4 separate regions of the Homo sapiens genome follow, and regions 2, 3 and 4 are each linked to region 1. Evidence: promoter capture Hi-C in human tissues and cell types (Jung and others, 2019). All regions are on one chromosome and are shown on one strand. Each heading gives the region's core, a stretch centred on a gene start or on the middle of the fragment in contact. The rest is flanking DNA. Distances are from core to core; before and after follow the strand shown.

Region 1 (4,769 bases), core at 162-2,661:
TGGGGATGTGGAGAAACCTCTGGGCCAGAGTTTGGGGTTGAGGGAGGTCGGAGACCAGCAGACCTGTCTGTTTTTACCAAGGCTGAGTGGTTCCTGAGTCTAGGCAATTGTGCTGGCCTCTGCTCCCAGCCCCTGGGGAAGTTGCCGGTGGCTCCTGCCCCACAGAGCCTGGCCCCCCCCCAGAGCTGCCTGGGTCACCTCAACCCTCTCAACAGTGCCCTTCCCACCCCACCCTGCAGGACAAGGTGCTGCGGATGCTGTACGTGTGGGCGCTCTGCCGAGACCAGGACGAGCTCAACCCCTACGCGGCCTGGCGGCTCCTGGACATCTCGGCCTCCAGCACCGAGCAGATTCTCTGAGTGTGGTGCCGGAGCCAGGTAGCCCCGGCCTGGGTCATCAGGCACAGAGGCACCGCAACACCACCTGCGGCAACTCCAGACCTCTGGGAACAAGACTGCGGGCTCTGCCCCCAGCTCTGCCAGGACGGCTGCAAGACCAGCTGGCCCGGGAGGGGACAACGGGCTGTTGCGGGTGCGCGGCAGCTGGAGACACTCCCCCGCAGGGCCAACCCCTGCCCTGTTGCTCTGCCCTGCAGGGGTCCCGGCGCCTGGTCACCTGGGGTGCACACAGGTCACACAGTGCCAAGAGGCCCCAGGGCCCAGGGACTCCCCCCACAGCAGGGTGGGACCCGGGACCCGCGGCTCAGTGGCCCGCTAGCCACGTCAGCCAAGCCACTTTAGGTCCATTTTTTAATTTTAACAGTGCTCTTCCATCTTGTGCATAAGCCTGAGATTTGGAAAGAATAAAACACCGAATTGCAGAAGAGCAGCTACGGAGTCTGAAGTGTCTTCTCTGGCGCGGGAGTGGCCGAGGCGATGGTGGGGGTGGGAGCAGGCGGCTGCTGTGGGAGGCGGTCAAGGTCGAGTGAGGAACTGCAGCCGCAGTGGGTGGACGCCTTGCCCAGGGCTGGACCCTGAGTTGGAAGACGAGGCCAGTGACAGACAAAACTAGGGGGACTTACTCATCCCAGTGACCTGCCTGAGCTCTCTGAGAATTGAGGTCCCCAGGGCCGGGGGAGCTTGAGTGCCCATATGAGTGTTTTAGGGCCACTGAGGTCCCCCCACAAACAGGGAGTCTCGAGTGGGGTCTATCGCGGAGGAGAATGCAGGCACAGGGCAGGCTGGGGGGCCCGAAGTGCCAGGGGAGGTGGGAGTGGCAGCTGCCCACTCCCCGGCGAGGTCGTGGGTGCTCGCGGGTCCTCGGGGCTGGGGTTCCGTCCTCCCGCAGGCCCGGGCGGGGTCGCTGGCTCGCGCGCCGCTCCCTGCGCAGCCTCCGCCCCCTGCAGCCCCGCCCCCCGCGGCGGCCCCGCCCCCGTCGCCATAGGAACAGCCGCGGCGGCCCGGCTCGCGCGCTGCTTGCCTGCCTCGGTCTCCGCCGCTCCAGGGGCGGGTGGGGTGGGCTGAGCCGGAGCCCGGGCCGCCGCCGCCGCCGCCGGGGAGAGGCCGAACGCGCAGCCGGCGCGGGTCCCTGAGAGAGCGCGGCCGCCGGGCGGTCGGTCCCCGTCCGGGTCGAAGCCAGGGTGAGGGGCGCGCCGGGGCGGGGGCGGTGGGGGAGGGGGTCCCAGGCCGCCGAGAACAAAGGGAGCGGGGGCAGGGGCCGCGGGGACCGTCCCCACGCCGCGCGCCCGGGCCGCGGCCGCGCTTTCGCACCTGTTGTGTGCGGCCCAGGCCGGGCGCGGCTCCGTTTCCCGGCTCTCAGCGCCCCCACCTGCGCGCACGGCCAGAGTTGGGTCCCCGCGTGGTGGTGGCGGCGATCCGGCGGGCCGGGCATGGGCGTAGCCCGGGGACCGAGGCGCGGGCGGGGGATGGGGTCGGGCACGTTAAGGGAGGCGGCGGCGGCGGCGGCAGGAGGGGGCGAAGCGGAGGAGGCGCGGGAGGGAGGGCGCAGCCTCATCCCCGGCGCCCGGGGCGGGTCCCCTCCTCCGCAGGGCGCGCGGCGATGTGAGCCATGAGCGCGACGTGGACGCTGTCGCCGGAGCCCCTGCCGCCGTCGACGGGGCCCCCGGTGGGCGCGGGCCTGGACGCGGAGCAGCGCACGGTGTTCGCCTTCGTGCTCTGCCTGCTCGTGGTGCTGGTGCTGTTGATGGTGCGCTGCGTGCGCATCCTGCTCGACCCCTACAGCCGCATGCCCGCCTCGTCCTGGACCGACCACAAGGAGGCGCTCGAGCGCGGGCAGTTCGACTACGCGTTGGTGTGAGGGGCGCGGCGCCCCCTAGCCGGCCCTGCGCCGGGGTCTCAGAGGGCCGGCCCGGCGGGGGGCGCCGCGGGGCCAGGACTGCGCTCAGGATCCCGCCCCGGAGCCCCCAGCCCGGGGGAGAGGGGGAGGGAGTTGGGAGAAGCCCAGCCCCTCCCCCTCGAGACCCCTCCCATGTCCCTTCCTGGCCTGGCCGGAGCCCCACCTCGTGCCTTTATCCGCCCTGTCCCTTCCTCTCTGCGCATCTCACCCGCCCGGCTGGCCCCCACCCCCGACTCTGAATCCCGGGCGGGAGGAGGACCCCCGCACCGCCCCCTCCCCAGCGTGTAAGTGGCTCTGCTATTGTGCGTCCCTGGAAGTGGGGACCCCCTTGTCCCTCCTCCCTCCCCTGTTGTCTGGCCGTCGTCAACCCCACCTTGACTGAGTGTTGAGCCCGTCCTTGGGCTCTGGTCCCTGCGGGGCAGGCTCTCCCGGGCCCACGGGGCGGACGCTGCATACCAATTTGCCCTGCACCGCCTGTCCCGGAGACGGAGCCCGAAGGCCTGCCATGGCGGCTGTGTCGAGGATGCGTGGCGCCTGCCGTGGCGGGACAGCGTGGGCAGGCTCATTTCTGCCCCCAACCCGGGCCCCAGGACAGGTCAGCGCGCCCTGCCCCGGTGCCCACCGCTGCCCCCCATCCGCCCTCCTGCCACTTGCCCCTGACCCCCCTGCCGTGCCTCCCGCAGCCCTCCCATGCCGTTCCACTCCTCCCTGCCTCTGAGCCGAACATGATAATAAAAGCTATTATTGAGCGCTTACTGCATGCCAAGTAGCGTGCTGAGTTGGCACCTCCTGTTTATAGCCTGTCTCCTCTTCGGGATCGTGAGAATGAGCCAGGCCCTGTTAGCATCCCTATTCTACAGGCCAGGAGACCGAGGGCCAGGCAGCTCCAGTGACTGACTTGCCCACAGTCACATGGCTAGAGTCTGGTAGGGCTGGAAGTGGAACCCAGGTCTGGCTTTTGCATGTTTTTAAAGCTTCCCAGGGCTGCAAAGACACCAAGATCACAAGCACCTTTCACCGGCTTTGGGGGGGGGGGCTGATGTGTAACCCCCAGCTGCCTCCCCTCCACACACAATTCTGTTGATCTGGGGAGGCGCCGGGGGTGGTGAGAGAGACTCAGCCCTGTGGGGAACTGGGAGGCGCACCCTCTGCCAGCCCTGGAGGGAGGCTCCGACGACCGACCGTACCTGCAGCCTAAGCCTCCTCCCCCTGCCCACCACCATTGGCAGCGTTTGTGGGTCTGGTGCGGTGGGGCGGTGACCACGGACGGAGTGGGCTGGCTGTGCTCCAAGGCCCTCCCAAGAGATGTGCACCCCAGGGGAGCCGTGTGCAGTGTGTGGGGGGAGGAATGAGCGTTTCTATAAAAGGCAGGCTGGGTGAATGCACAGGCTCCGAGAACGGAGAATTTACCGACTTGGATTACTAGCTGGGCGTGGGACGCGGTGCCGTGGGAGGACATCTGCTTCCCTCTCTAGGACCCGACCCTCGGTCCACACCCACAGGGCAGGTGAAGCTGATGGAGGGGGCCTCAAGCGGGGTCCCAGCACCCCCAGGGGTTTGGGGTCAGCCCTGACTCCAGTACCCCTCCCTCCCCGCCTTCTAGGGATCCTTGAGGTCCCAAAGCCACCCCAGGGGACACTCCACTCCCACTAGCCTCCTGCCACTCGGGGCAGCCCACCCCTATCTATCTTCCTCTAACCGCCCAGCCTGGGGCTCAACTCCTTCCACCGGGTCACCCCCACTCTCTGCTGCCTTCTCCCCTCCACCTGTGCGATGTGATTTTGCCCTACTCTGAAACCCATCCCTGACGCCTGTCCCCAAGGTGCCCTGCCGGCTCTCCCCATCCACACTTGTCAGCTTCACAGTCACCAAGGGGCTCCTCACCCCAGGCCTCATCACACCAGTCAGGTGGCAGCTCTCCTCCCTGGCACACACCCCCAGCCCTGTGACCCCCAAGCTCTGACACTTCAGGGCCCCCACTTCCATCTTTAAGTCACAGGTGAAAGAGAAAGAGAATGATAACTTTATTCATGGTCACAGAATACCCCCGGGAAGGGGAAGGACCTGGCAGCAGGGAGTAACCACGACTGGTCAGTTGAAGAAGGTGAGGATGCTGGCCCCGAGGTGTACAGGAAGGGGGAAAATGTGCGAGGGCCTTTACGGTGGGCAGTGCCAGCTATGGCCCCCCAGCAGACAACAAGGCACAGTGGGGCTTGGGGACTGGGGGAGGCCAGCCCTGTCCGCCTGTCCTTGACATCAGGAGGCTTGTGAGTGGAGTCCTGCAACCCCCACCCAACCCCTGTACAACGGGGGTTCCATTTCTGAGACCCCCAAAGTATGGGGCATCTTAGAGGCCCGCCCCACAGCTGAGCATCATCTCAAGGACCTTCCCCCATGACGGGATCCTCAGAAAGAGCCAGGGCCAGCCGAGCAGAACCGAGGGGCAGGGCGGGGGGCCTGGTGTGGCCTCCTGC
Region 2 (3,699 bases), core at 1-2,500, 300 kb after region 1:
GAGCCAAAGGCCTCCAGAGCCCCACATCAGGGCAGGGTCGGCTTATGGGAGGCAGACATTAGTCCCCAGCAGACTGCTGCCCCACACCCTCTCCCACCCCTGGAATGAACCCTCAAACACTCCTCTTATGCCCACCTTGCGCTGTATGACATCGTCCTCAAACCACTCGGCCTGATTGGAAACCCAGAACATAGCCACAGGGAAAGTGAGGTAGATTATCATCTGGAATGGCAGAGGGTGGGTGAGGTGAGCTCCCCCCAAGCAATGTGCAGAGGCTCCTCAGAGCCTGGGGGACCCATCCTACTGCAGAGTCCAGAAGCGCCTCGTTACGGCCGACCCAAGAATCCCAGAACTCCCACCAAGGGTACAGAAACCTCGCACCCTAAAACCTAACTCCTATAATCCAGGAGGCCTCATTCCTGAAAGTTCCCTCTGAGCTGGAGTCTTCCTCTCAAACACAGACAGACACACAGACGCCCCAGCTACAATCAAAAGCATCTCCTCGAGACCTCATTACCCATCCCCACTTAAGATCCCGGGAGCACCCCCAAACCCAGGAGGCGTCACTCTTCAACTCCACTTCTCGAAGTCTAGGAATCTCCCTGTCATAGACACCCACCCACCACGAGCCCGAGAGCTCCCCCAGGATCTTAAGTCTTCCTTCTTTAGAGCCCCCTTCTCAGCTCACCCCTCTCTGAGGTCCTTCCTCGGACCAGCCCTCTCACAGCCCCCAAACCCAGAAGCCCAAATCCGAGAACCCCCCCAGCCCAGCGTCCCCTCTCCTGGATTTCCAACCAGAAAGGTTCCTCTCAAATCTTAAGAGCTTTCTCCTTGGAGCTCCCTCTTCCTTTGAAGTCCCCCCATTTCCAACCTCATCTTCAGATCCAGGAAGATCCCCTGCCCAGCCTCCCAACCCACTCCTGTGTCCACTGACCCGAAATATCTCCAGCTTCACCCCCATCTCGTTTCTCCCGGTCAACAAAGCCAGTTCCGCCCAAAGCCGACCCTCCAGCAAGACAGAAGCTCACTGGTGTTTTGCACGCTCCATTGCTGAAGCTGATTGGCCAATGTGTATCCTGATGGCGCATCTTCTGGCGCCTCTATTCTGCTTCCGGTCGCTGGCGTCGTCGAAAAGAAGTCAATAACGTGGGCCTGTCCGTCAAAAATGATTTAACCAATAGAAAACGGGTCTGGCTCGGAGGGGCGGGCCGTCAGTGGTAGACGTCATAAGCGCGCGACTCTCTCCTGTACCTGGGCATCCAGAAAAATGGTGGTGATGGCGCGACTCTCGCGGCCCGAGCGGCCGGACCTTGTCTTCGTGAGTCCACAGAGGAGCCGGGGGTGGCCTGCGTTGGGGCATTGGGACCTGGACGCCGCAGGGGATCGAGGCTGGGTCGGCAAGGAGATTTAGGCCGAAACTGCCAGGCCAAGGTCTGGGAACCCTAATGGGCCAGAGACCGGATCGTCATGTCCGCACCGAACTGTCCAGGAGTAAAAATATGGTGTTGTATCTTCGGGTCTGAGTAGAAAACCACTGTCGAAGGGAAGCGTCTAGCCTCCCGAACCAGGGGCGGAAATGGGGGCGTGCAGGGAATGGGAGAGGAGGAAGATCGCATAACTGAACCTTGAGAGGTGAAGATCGGTGTCTGAAGTAAAGGCTTGCTTACGAGGCCAGGGTTCTGGTTTCTGGGATGAAGGCTTGGTTTTCTGGATAGCGGTCTCTAGGCCTGGACTGCAGCATGACAGTTTCTGGGGTGGTGGCCAGGCTAGAAGAACCCTGGTGATGTGGAGCTTGTCAGGCGATGGCCAGTGAAATACTTACTCTCTGGAGTAGAGGCGTGACATCTTCACCAGATTCTTGGTGTGCAGAGTTAAAGGCTTGGCTTCTGGTGTATAACTCCTCCTGTGAGATAAAGGCCTAGCTTTTAATTTCTGGGGCAGAGTTGAGCTAGACGCTGGCTAGTGGGATCCTGGGGGCGGGGCTAGTGGCTTGGAATCTGGACCTGAGAGCCCTGGTGGCTGGGGTAAAGATCTGGTCATCTGGGCCTGGGGTGGAGATGGGTCAGATGGTGACAGTGGGAGTCTGAGGGGCCAAAGGCCTGGTGTCTGGGAAGAGGCACGTTTTGAAGAAGTGGGGTCTGGTGTCCAGGACTGGCATCTGGGCCAGGGCCTTGGTATCTAAGGAGTCTGACCATCTGGGGCAGAAAGCGAGTGGTGATGCGGACTCATTCCTGGCCCAGAGCCCTAATGACTGAGAAGTCTGATGATTTGGGTTCGATTTTGGGTAGTTGAATTCTGAGGGGTAAAGGTCTGGGCCACTGTCTTGGTGTCGGGCATCTGGTTTGGTGCCTGGGCATCTGGTGACCTGACTTCCTTGGTGGGTGGTGGGATCTAGGTAAAAGTCCGGAGTTTGGACCTGAGCCCCAGCAGTGGGATGGTGCTGCACACAGGCTCTGAGGGTAGGCCTCTCTTCTTCCCATTCCCTGGCCCTGGCAGGAGGAAGAGGACCTCCCCTATGAGGAGGAAATCATGCGGAACCAATTCTCTGTCAAATGCTGGCTTCGCTACATCGAGTTCAAACAGGGCGCCCCGAAGCCCAGGCTCAATCAGCTATACGAGCGGGCACTCAAGCTGCTGCCCTGCAGGTGGGAATGGCTCCAGCTGCCCTGCCCACCAGCCCCCACCCCACCTGGTCCAGTTATAACAAAACTGCCAAGTGGGTCCCGGGTCCCGGGTGATTGCTTCGTGTTTCATCACTGACCTGTACATCCCTTGATGGGTCAGCACACCTTCTCTGATGTCCCAGTCTGTCCCTGTCATTGCTGAGACATGTCACCCCTCCCACACCCCTTCTTCCCACATTTGCCAACTGGGGCAGGGCAAATGGTTCTGGGGGTGTCCATAAAGCTGACCGATCAGCATCTGTCCCCTCCTATTCCCCAGCTACAAACTCTGGTACCGATACCTGAAGGCGCGTCGGGCACAGGTGAAGCATCGCTGTGTGACCGACCCTGCCTATGAAGATGTCAACAACTGTCATGAGAGGGCCTTTGTGTTCATGCACAAGGTTTGGGGCTCGGCGAGGGGATGAATCGGGAAGTGGAGCTCAGTCCATGGTGGTGGGTGGGGCGGGGACAGGGGCTGGGCTCAGCATGTTAGGGATGGGGGCTTGGATTCCTGTTGCTTCTTTGCATGGGAAGTTGGGCTGGACTCAGTCCTGGAGCTGGGGGTTTCTGGGTCCCGCCGCATTTATGTGGTGGCCCCAGGTGTGGCTCAGCCACAGGACATCGAGTGTCTGTGGCCAGGCCATGGAGTCCGTGGCTTAGCCCCAGCCGCCTCTCCCCACACCCCCAGATGCCTCGTCTGTGGCTAGATTACTGCCAGTTCCTCATGGACCAGGGGCGCGTCACACACACCCGCCGCACCTTCGACCGTGCCCTCCGGGCACTGCCCATCACGCAGCACTCTCGAATTTGGCCCCTGTATCTGCGCTTCCTGCGCTCACACCCACTGCCTGAGACAGCTGTGCGAGGCTATCGGCGCTTCCTCAAGGTGAGCCTAGCAGGTGCGCTGGTTCCCCAGGTTAGTTTCCAGAAACGGCCTCACTGTGACACTAGCTCCGCGTAGGATGTCACCCAGCAGACGGGATGTGGGAAGAGGCTCCTGGAGATGCATGTGTTTTGTTGTTGTCCGTGATTC
Region 3 (5,058 bases), core at 2,559-5,058, 380 kb before region 1:
GGGGGCTCCCTCTTGGCCAGCTCTGGGCCAGAGATGCGTTTTGCAGTTGCCATTTGCGCATGGATTCTCAGCCCCACCAGCCTGAGTCTTCCTGAGGGCGGTGCCCCATCTTCCTGGCTCTGCGCCCACACAGTAGCGCCTGCCATGCAGTTCTTGCCCAGTCTGAGGCAGGAATAGCTGGAGGCCATTGTCACCTGATCGCTTGGCCCTTTTGCCAGCATCCTGTTTTGAGGGGCAGCAGGAATGGGGGTGGGGGCCTTGTGTACGCTGGAGACCAAAAGTGGGAAGGGAGGAGCCCAGCTCTCCACAGTGGGTTCTGGGCCTGGGGGCCACAGCAGGGGGTTCATACAGGGCTCAGGGGAGAGAGGAGGCTTGCTAGCTCCCACCTGGCGTTGGCTGATCCTCTGAGGGGCTGCGTTGGAGGGGTTGGCATTCTGGAACACCCTGCTGTCTGTCCTGCAGGTCCAGAAAGTCCCTGTGGGTGTGTTTGTCCCGGGGCAGGTGTGGGCTCCCTCAGATCTTTCCACACTGTTCTTTGGAAACCCTCACTGAAGTCTTTCCCTCCTCCAGCTCTGCTGTAGCTGCCACTGAGAAGAAGGCGGTGACTCCAGCTCCTCCCATAAAGAGGTGGGAGCTGTCCTCGGACCAGCCTTACCTGTGACACTGCACCCTCACGGCCACCCGACTACTTTGCCTCCTTGGATTTCCTCCAGGGAGAATGTGACCTAATTTATGACAAATACGTAGAGCTCAGGTATCACTTCTAGTTTTACTTTAAAAAATAAAAAAATAGAGACAGAGTCTCACCATGTTTCCCAGGCTGATCTTGAACTCCTGGCCTCAAGCGATCCTCCTGCCTTGACCTCCCAAAGTGCTGGGATTACAGGCATGAGCCACCACACCTGGCCTGATTTTATTTTTATTTTTTAGACCTTCCCACTGAGGCCTCTGCTTGACCTTGGTCACCCTGTAGCTCAACGGGGAAGGCAAAGGACAGTGAGGGCTGCTTACAGGGAAGGCAGACCTAGGGCAGATCAGGAAAGGCCTCCCTGAGCCAGAAACCATTATGCTGGGGCTGTGGGATGAGAATGAGTTAGCTCCAGAAGGAAGGCAGCTGGTTCCTGGGGAGGAGATAGAAATCTGGCTGCAGGAGCCAGAGTTTTCGCGCTTGTCACCCAGGCTGGAACGCAACGGCACGATCTCAGGTCACTGCAACCTCTGCCTCCTGGGCTCAAGCAATTCTGCCTCAGCCTCCCGAGTAGCTGGGACTACGGGTGTGCACCACCATACCCGCTAATTTTTTTTTTTTTTTGTAGAGATGGCCAGGCTGGTCTCAAATTCCTGACCTCAGGTGATCCGCCCGCCTTGGCCTCCCAAAGTGTTGGGATTACAGGTGTGAGCCACCACGCCTGGCCCCTGATTTTAAGCAATACCCAGCTTACTTGGATTTTGGGGTGAAGTCAGTGCTGAGTCTCCCAACTCTGTTGGCACTCCAGGGGTGGGACAGACACTGTCCCTGGGTGCAGAGGCCCTGGAGACAGCACTGCCCTTTCCCCCAAAGGCCAGGCTCTGACCTTGAGAGTGGTGGGAGTGGGTGATCCTTCTGGGAGGTTGGACTCCCAGGACCGCTGGCTGTTGGGGAGCATTGATTGTGAAGACCAGTCAGGTGGGGTAAGGGGTGTATGTGCGGACACTCAGTAGGCCAGCCACAGACTTCTCACTTCTTTTTTTTTTTTGAGACAGAGTTTCGCTCTTGTTGCCCAGGCTAGAGTACAATGGCGCGATCACGGCTCACTATAACCTCTGCCTCCTGGGTTCAAGTGATTCTCTTGCCTCAGCCTCCCGAGTAGCTGGGATTACAGGCGCCTGCCACAAGCCCAGCTAATTTTTGTATTTTTAGTAGAGACGGGGTTTCGCCATGTTGGCCAGGCTGGTCTCAAACTCCTGACCTCAAGTGATCCGCCCACCTCTGCCTCCCGAAGTGTTGGGATTACAGGCGTGAGCCACCGCGCCTGGCCTAACTTCCATCTCTTGAGGGCTCCCACAGCCACTTCTCACATGAACCTTCCTCAGCACCTTCCCACTGAGGCTCCTGCTTGACCATGGTCACCCTGCAGCTCAACGGGGAAGGCAGAGGACAGTAAGGGCTGCTCACAGGGAAGGCAAACCTAGGGCAGATCAGGAAAGGCCTCCCTGAGCCAGATCCCATTATGCTGGGGCTGTGGGATAAGAATGAATTCGCCCCAGAAGGAAGGCAGCTGGTTCCTGGGGAGGAGACAGAAATCTGCAAAGGGAGGGTGTCCAAGTCTGGCTGCAGGAGCCACCCAGTGACCCTACGCAGGGGAGTGTCATGGCTTCCCCAGGGCACAGCCCCAGACCCTTCAGCAGCTAAAAAAGATCAGCTGTGGACCAAGAGGGTGCTGAGACCGCCCTGCCCTCTGGAAGGGGAAAGGCCACGGCTACAGGCAGCAGGTACCAGTGTCCCAGAGTGGGTCCTACAAAGGCTAACACCTTCCTGGAGAAGGTGGGATTCTGCTTGGGGCAAAAGGATGAATCAGATTCAGAAAGGTCAGGAGGGAAGGAAAGACTAGGCAGGGTGTGCAGAGGCCACAAGGAGGGCAAGACCCTAGGCAAGGCATGCCGCTGACGGCATCTGAACCAAGTTTTATGACCACAACTTTTTTTTTTTTTTGAGACAGAGTCTCACTCTGTCACCCAGGCTGGAGTTCAATGATGTGGTCTCGGCGCACTGCAACCTCCGCCTCCCGGGTTCAAGCGATTCTCCCATCTCAGCCTCCCTAGTAGCTGGGACTACAGGAGCATGTTACCACACCCGGCTAATTTTTGTATTTTTGGTAGAGACGGGAGTTTTACTATGTTGGCCAGGCTGGTTTAGAACTCCTGACCTCGTGATCCGCCTGCCTCGGCCTCCCAAAGTGCTGGGGTTAACAGGCGTGAGCCAGCGCGCCGGCCAACTTTTCTAACAAATGGGGTCTCACTGTCACCCACGCTGGAGTGCAGCCCCAAGTGATTCTCCCACCTCAGCCTCCTGAGTAGCTGGGACTACAAATTAGAGCCACCATGCCCAGCTAATTTTCTTTTTTCTTGAGGCGGGCGGGGACTTGCTGTGTTGCCCAGGCTGATCTCGAACTCCTGGGCTCAAGCGATCTGCCCGCCTCTGCTTCCCAAAATGCTGGGATCACACACGTGACCCACCGCGCCCGGCCTTTATTATTAAATTTAATTAATTAATTGATTTCCTTTCCTTTTTCCCCCCCAAGCAACCCGACTCCGAGAATGGACGTTTCATTTATTCATTTACTCACCAAATGTTTACTAAGAGCCTACTATGAGTCAAGCACTATGTGTCAGATCCTGAGAATAAAGCAGTGAGCAACAGAAGATCCCTGCCCTCCAGTAGCTAGCATTCTATGGGGACTCGGACAACAAACCAGAATAAGTAAATAAAATAAATTACCTGTCGGCGCCACAAAAGCAGTGGGATGAGGGAGGAAATGCGGAGTGCCTGAGGGGCGTGGCTGCCATATTAAAGAAGATCACGAGGCAGTAACATTTGCAGCAGTCCTCATTTGGAACGGGAAATAATGCAAATGAACACCAACAAATTCCTTCCCATCCCCAGAAGTTTCTAACTTCAAGCGGGCTCCATACCTTTCAACTGATCTGGTCACTGGGGAAAGTGGGGACGGGCCTCTAATTCTCTTTTCCCTGCTATTCTGACATTTACGGTACGCGTAGCCGCGGGCGCCGCAGAACTCAGGGGCTTGGGCCCCGCCCCAACCCCGCGCGTGCGCGTGCGCAGGGATAAGAGAGCGGTCTGGACAGCGCGTGGCCGGCGCCGCTGTGGGGACAGCATGAGCGGCGGTTGGATGGCGCAGGTTGGAGCGTGGCGAACAGGGGCTCTGGGCCTGGCGCTGCTGCTGCTGCTCGGCCTCGGACTAGGCCTGGAGGCCGCCGCGAGCCCGCTTTCCACCCCGACCTCTGCCCAGGCCGCAGGTGAGTGACGCCCCGCAGCGCGGGCTCCCACCCCTCGCGAGGCTTCGCCCCGCCGCCGCGCACCGACAACGCCTAGTCACTGGCTGCACCGCACGTCAGTTCATGACACTCCCCCAGCACGTGGACTTGGACTTCATCGCTTGTGGGAAGGCGCGCACTGGTGCTAGGAAGACCCCATGCTGGGGGAGGGGAGGAGGGTGTCTCCACCTGCCTTTAACGGTTTTGCTCCGGCCCTGCACACCGTCTCCACACCTGCTGTGCCCTGTCGTCCCCCATTGTCACCTCCAAGCCGCCCTTCATACCAGCGTGGTCAGGAAAGCTCTTAGCAGGCTCAGATTGTCCGACCGCTAATCACGCAGGACGGGTCACCTGGTGCCTCTCGCACCTTTGCCTTCCAAACCCTCGCGCCCAGGCCTTGTGACCGTTCCGCAACCGTCCCTGCCCTCCCAGTCTCTCCTCCTTTGTCCTCCATCCTTAGAGAACGCGAGGTCTCTCCCCCCCATGCTACTGCAGGCTCTCGCAGAGACTGGGGTCACAAGTTGAATATACCCCCGTGGACGTGTTCGCCCTGGCCTAAGAGGTATTGGTGGCCAGTGGGGACGGGCTCCCTCTCTGATACCCCTAGAGGCAGCTGGAGGGTTGGAGTGGCCTCCCTGTGCACTCAGGCACTCCCAACTTGCAGCCCTGGGCTCAGGCTCACACACTTTCCCAGCTCCTTTGTGCATTCCGCACTTCTAGGTCCCTGGACTCATCCCAAAGTCCCTGACATTCACGTTAAATGTTCCTGGGTTTTTTTTTGTTTGTTTTTTTTTAAGGAGGCAGCGTTCACGTTAACCAAGTACAAAAGTTTTTGTTTTTTTTTTTTTGAGTCTCCCTCTGTCGCCCTGGCTGGAGTGCAGTGCAATGTTGGCTCACTGCACCCTCCGCCTCCCGGGTTTAAGCAATTCTCATGCCTCAGCCTCCCGAGTAGCTTGGGACTACAGGCACCGTCACCATGCCCGGCTAATTTTTGTATTTTTAGTAGAGATGGGGTTTCACCAT
Region 4 (4,422 bases), core at 1,848-4,347, 320 kb after region 1:
ATCTGAGGCCCCTGTCACCCCACATACCTGCCCCCCACCGTGCAAATGTCCCTTTCCCCCCTCTCCCACCCATGGAGGCCTTACCCAGCCACTCACACCTGTTCTGTCCATTCATACCTGGCTCCCCATCTATCCCCCACCCGCCCACCCATCCTTCAGTAAAGCCCTATTCATCCAATAGTGGGTTTGTCCACCTCCCCCCGCCCCCACCCGCCCCCGCCCCAGGCCCAGGACCCTCCAGCCACCTGCTCGGGGACTCACCTTGTAGAAGAACCCCAGCCCCACCCGGGGCTCCCCCTCCGAAGACGCCTCCTCCTCCAAGGAATCCTCAGCACCAGCGGGGCTCCCGTCTCCCTCGTCCTCGGCGGCGGGATCTGCCAGGCTGCCCAGCGGGATCTCGATGAGGCCCGGCCGGGCGGCTGGCTCCTCGGGGGGCGTCTCCTCCGCCAGGAGGATGGAAGAGCGCGTCTGCACGGGCACCTGGCTCGGCGAGAACTTGCGCAGGTGGGGGAGGCTGTCTACGTCGTGGGGTGGCGTAAGCACCCTGGTCAAGGGTGCCAGCCGCAGCTCCGCTGGCCGCGTGTGTTTCGGGCTGCGGGGTGACTGGCTGGGCCCGGGCCCAGGGCTGCGCCGGGTGGCCGGGACTCGCCGGGCGGGGCTGGGGGATGCAGCTTTGGGCCCCGTCGTGGGGCCAGGGATGACCCACGCAGCAGGTGGTGGGGCGGATCCGGGGGCCTCGGGCGGGGCCAGGAGCCGCTGCTGCTGGTCCGTGAGCCTCTGCATGTCCCGCTGCAGCGAGCTCAAGGCGGCACTCAGCTTGCTGACCGCTCGATTGTATTCCCCCAGCCCCTCGTGGGGCACCGGGCCCAGGTCTGGCGAGAAGGTCACTGCCTTGGGCCGTGAGGTTGGCTCACCCTGGCCCTCGCCTGCGGGCCGCTCCCCACCAGGGACTGGACCGGAATCGGCCTCCTCCGCCTCTGCTTCCGCCTCCCCAGAGGCTTCCCGCGGCTGCACCTGCAGGAAGGCGCTTTTGCCCAGCCGCTGGCGGTGCTTGGCGAATATGGCCTCAATCCGTCGCTTCTGAGCCTCGATGGCTCTGCGTTTCTCCTCCAGCCGGGCGCTGAGCTCACTCATCTCCGAGCTCAGGGCCTCCGGCGGGGCCGGAGTGGACGTGGGGGACCCCGCTCCGGCCTCAGCCTCTGCCTTCACCAGCTGTTTCTTGCGTTCTGCAAAGCTGGTCATTTTCACCTCGGAGTTGGTGGCTGCTGGGGACGAAGCCACCGCCTTCGGGGACCCCTCGGATGGGGCTGGCGGTTTCGATGCCTCCCCCACCAGACAGGGAGATGGTTTCGAGGGGGTCTCGGGGTGTGGCATGTACACTGGTGCTTTGGTGGGCCTGTCGGACAGTGGTTTGGAGGTCCCCTCGGGCAGGTAGGGGGAGGCCAGGGATGGCTTGGAGGGCCCCTCAGGGGAGTGGAGGTAGAAGCTGCCGTCGGCCGCCCCATCTGGGAGGAGCCGGGGCTCGGCACTGTGGATGATCTGCAGAGCTTCCTCGATGGTGGGCAGGTCACCAGGCTCCGGGGGTGGCTGGGTGGGGGTCCTGGCCGGCGCGGGACGCGGGGGGCCCAGGCTGTCCGAGCTCACAGAGCGGAGGAGCACAGGGTCTCCCATGACGACATCCACGTCGCTGTCCAGGCCAAAGGGGGTGCTGAATGACACAGCCTGGGAGAGGGGACGGCTGGGCGGCCGGAGGGAGGGGTCAGCCCCTGGGACCAGCCTCGGCCCCAACCCGCCCTAGCCTGCTCCACCCCCTACCCTGGCCTGTGAGGTCTACTCACCTGAGCTGCCGGTTCCAGGCCTTGCCCAGGGCCTCCATATGGGACATGGACGGGGAAGACTTCAGGGAGCCTGGGGGAGGCGATGAGTGGTCACTATGGGGACCCTGGGAACCCTGAGTGGGGTCAGCCAGCATCTGGGGACAACCTCTGCAAGGTCATTGGGTGAGTCACTGATGGCTCATTATGTGGTCTAGTGAGACCAGAGGTTTCCAGAAACAGATACCCGGGGCCATTTACTGTCACTACGGGGTACTGTGGGGCCACTGGGGAGGCCATTCTGGGGGTCACTTTGGGATGCCCAAGGGGGATCTGATGGAGAGGCTATTGGAAGGCTCACGAGGAGACAACATGAGGCCCACTGGGGCAGTCTGTGAGTGGGGGGGTCCCCCGTGACAGAAGCCACCTACCCCCTCCTCACCTGTGGATCCTCGGAGTGGGGACTGGGGGCCACCAGATGACAGAAGCGGGTGGCGGAAGGTGAAGACAGGAGAACTGTACGGAGAGACGTACTTCAGCCTCAGGACCCCCACCTCCTCCTCCGCCTCTCCCCGGGGGGAGACAACAGCATCACCCAGCTGCGTCCCAGTGCTCAGCAAGGCAGACATGGAGCCCCACACCCACAATGCCAGAGACTCGCCCAGTGTGGGGAGCGTACCTACTGCCGCTGTTGTTCTGAGGTGGGGAGGCCTCAGTGCCCCGGGGGGAGGCAGCTGCAGTACAGAGAAGAGGGTCAGGCGGGGGTTTGGCTCTCCCACCCGCCCCCGACCCGGCCCCCAGGCCCCCAGGGCCTCACCGTGACCATCGGGCAAGTCCTTCACTTGCACAAAGTCGGGCTTGAGCACCTCAAAACACATGAACAACTCGGCCAGCATCACCACCAAGTTGACCTGGAGGTGGGAGGCCGGGTCAGCAGACGGGACCCCTGGCCCCAGATGCCCGCCTCGGCCCAGGAGGCCCCAGGATGGCCTTACCTTGAGTGGCGGTGGGACGTACAGCAAGTCCTCAAGGGACAGGGGGCAGCCACGAGGAAGGCGAGAGGCACAGAAATCCTGCACGAGCTGGAGGTTGTACAGGCTGTCCGCCACAGACATGGGGTCCTTCAAGCACACCTCTGTGGGGACAGGAGGAGTGGGTCCCCAACTCTATGAGGAGGAGGATGGGGCCCCAGGGAAGCCAGGGACCAGCAGTCCCCCACACACGGAAGACCTCCTATGAGCCCAGCTTCTGCCAGGTGCCCTTCGAGAGGTGAATTCTTTTTTTTTTTTTTTTGAGATGGAGTCTCGCTCTGTCACCCAGGCTGTAGTGCAGTGGCGCAATCCCAGCTCACTGCAACCTCTGCCTCCCGGGTTCAAGTGATTCTCCCACCTCAGCCTCCTGAGTAGCTGGGATTACAGGAGTGTGCCACAACACCAGGCTAATTTTTTGTGGTTTTAGTAGAGATGGGGTTTCACCGTGTTAGCCAGGATGGTCTCGATCTCCTGACTTCATGATCCGGCCGCCTCAGCCACCCAAAGTGCTGGGATTACAGGCGTGAGCCACTGTACCCGGCCGAGGTGAATTATATGATAGACCGTCCTTAGGCCGGGGGTCCTTAACCCCCGGGGCGTGGCCTGTCAGGAACTGAACCGTACAGCAGGTGAGCTGCAGTGAGTGTATTTACAGCCGCTCCCCGTCACTTGCAGGACCACCCGAACCCCGCTTCCGTCAGATCAGCGGCGGCATTCGATTCTTACAGGAGCGCGAACCCTATTGTGAACCTGGCGTGTGAGGGATCTAGGTTGCACCCTCCTTATGAAAATCGAATGCCTGATGATCTGTCACTGTCTCTCATCACCCCCAGCTGGGACCGTCTAGTTGCAGGAACAAGCTCAGGGCTCCCACTGGTTCCCCATGATGATGAGTTGTAGAATTATTTCATTCTATGTTACAACGTATTAGATATAAAGTACATAATAAAGATTAACGTGCTTGAATTATCCCAAGACCACCTCCCTGCCTCCATCTGTGGAAAAATTGTCTTCCACAAAACCGGTCCCTGGAGCCAAAAAGTTGGTGACTATTGCCTTAGGCCTTTGCATCTTTCTAGAACACTCTCCCCCAAGACCTCAGCTCAAAAAGCTTTTCCGGGCCAGGTGTGGTGGCTCACACCTGTAATCTTAGCACTTGGGGAGGCTGAGGTGGGAGGATGTTTGAGCCCAGGGATTCAAGACCAGCTTGGGCAACATAGCAAGACCCCATCTCTATTTTATACTTTTTTTTTTTTTTTTTTGAGATGGAGTCTCGCTCTGTTGCCCAGGCTAGAGTGCAATGGCATGGTCTTGACTCACTGCAACCTCCACTTCCTGGGTTCAAGCGATTCTCCTGCCTCAGCCTCCTGTGTAGCTGGGATTACAGGCGCCCGCCACCGCACCCGGCTAATTTCTGTATTTTTAGTAGAGACGGTTTCACCATCCTGGCCAGGCTGGTCTTGAACTCGTGACCTCGTGATCCACCCGCCTCGGCCTCCCAAACTGCTGGGATTACAGGCGTGAGCCACCACACCCAGCCCTATAATTTTTTTTTTAATAAAAAAGAAAAAAGAGTT

Evidence for each region. The method cuts DNA at HindIII sites, captures the fragments that hold promoters and counts their contacts. A contact is called where the count stands out against the background at its distance.
Region 2: a contact is called between the fragment with the promoter of XAB2 here and the fragment with the promoter of CTXN1 in region 1, in 1 of the 25 tissues and cell types used here (dorsolateral prefrontal cortex).
Region 3: the fragment with the promoter of CD320 here is called in contact with the fragment with the promoter of CTXN1 in region 1 in 1 of the 25 tissues and cell types used here (dorsolateral prefrontal cortex).
Region 4: a contact is called between a fragment that was not itself captured here and the fragment with the promoter of CTXN1 in region 1, in 1 of the 25 tissues and cell types used here (lymphoblastoid cells).

The regions. Positions count from the first base shown.
Region 1 is chr19:7,922,777-7,927,545 of GRCh38, reverse strand. It overlaps CTXN1 (cortexin 1), which reads left to right and starts at 1,411. Exons shown (of 2, transcript NM_206833.4): 1 at 1,411-1,579; 2 at 1,988-3,055. The coding sequence starts at 2,008. The coding sequence ends at 2,256. It overlaps TIMM44 (translocase of inner mitochondrial membrane 44), which reads left to right. Exons shown (of 13, transcript NM_006351.4): 13 at 240-828. The coding sequence ends at 359. It overlaps LOC124904629 (a long non-coding RNA gene), which reads right to left and starts at 2,141. Exons shown (of 2, transcript XR_007067120.1): 1 at 1,710-2,141; 2 at 736-973. It overlaps SNAPC2 (small nuclear RNA activating complex polypeptide 2), which reads right to left. Exons shown (of 5, transcript NM_003083.4): 5 at 4,296-4,769. RefSeq lists an enhancer at 1-730 and silencers at 1,227-1,496, 2,027-2,116. The HindIII fragment of the contact is 9,564 bases long and covers 1-4,769 here.
Region 2 is chr19:7,627,096-7,630,794 of GRCh38, reverse strand. XAB2 (XPA binding protein 2) reads left to right here and starts at 1,250. Exons shown (of 19, transcript NM_020196.3): 1 at 1,250-1,318; 2 at 2,497-2,645; 3 at 2,944-3,067; 4 at 3,355-3,552. The coding sequence starts at 1,268. It overlaps PET100 (PET100 cytochrome c oxidase chaperone), which reads right to left and starts at 1,002. Exons shown (of 4, transcript NM_001171155.2): 1 at 935-1,002; 2 at 136-222. The coding sequence starts at 961. It also overlaps a transcript of STXBP2 not described here. RefSeq lists enhancers at 909-958, 1,219-1,338. The HindIII fragment of the contact is 19,448 bases long and covers 1-3,699 here.
Region 3 is chr19:8,307,108-8,312,165 of GRCh38, reverse strand. It overlaps CD320 (CD320 molecule), which reads left to right and starts at 3,808. Exons shown (of 5, transcript NM_016579.4): 1 at 3,808-4,017. The coding sequence starts at 3,876. NDUFA7 (NADH:ubiquinone oxidoreductase subunit A7) reads left to right here. Exons shown (of 4, transcript NM_005001.5): 4 at 571-882. The coding sequence ends at 661. RefSeq lists enhancers at 1-225, 2,980-3,509, 3,565-4,304, 4,189-4,318, 4,305-5,045 and silencers at 3,706-4,044, 4,019-4,108. The HindIII fragment of the contact is 38,311 bases long and covers 1-5,058 here.
Region 4 is chr19:7,609,003-7,613,424 of GRCh38, reverse strand. It overlaps CAMSAP3 (calmodulin regulated spectrin associated protein family member 3), which reads right to left. Exons shown (of 17, transcript NM_020902.2): 6 at 2,810-2,949; 7 at 2,632-2,725; 8 at 2,494-2,548; 9 at 2,257-2,330; 10 at 1,839-1,908; 11 at 262-1,738. Among named protein-coding and RNA genes, the nearest start is that of MIR6792, 6.2 kb to the left of the region's middle. The HindIII fragment of the contact is 6,069 bases long and covers 63-4,422 here.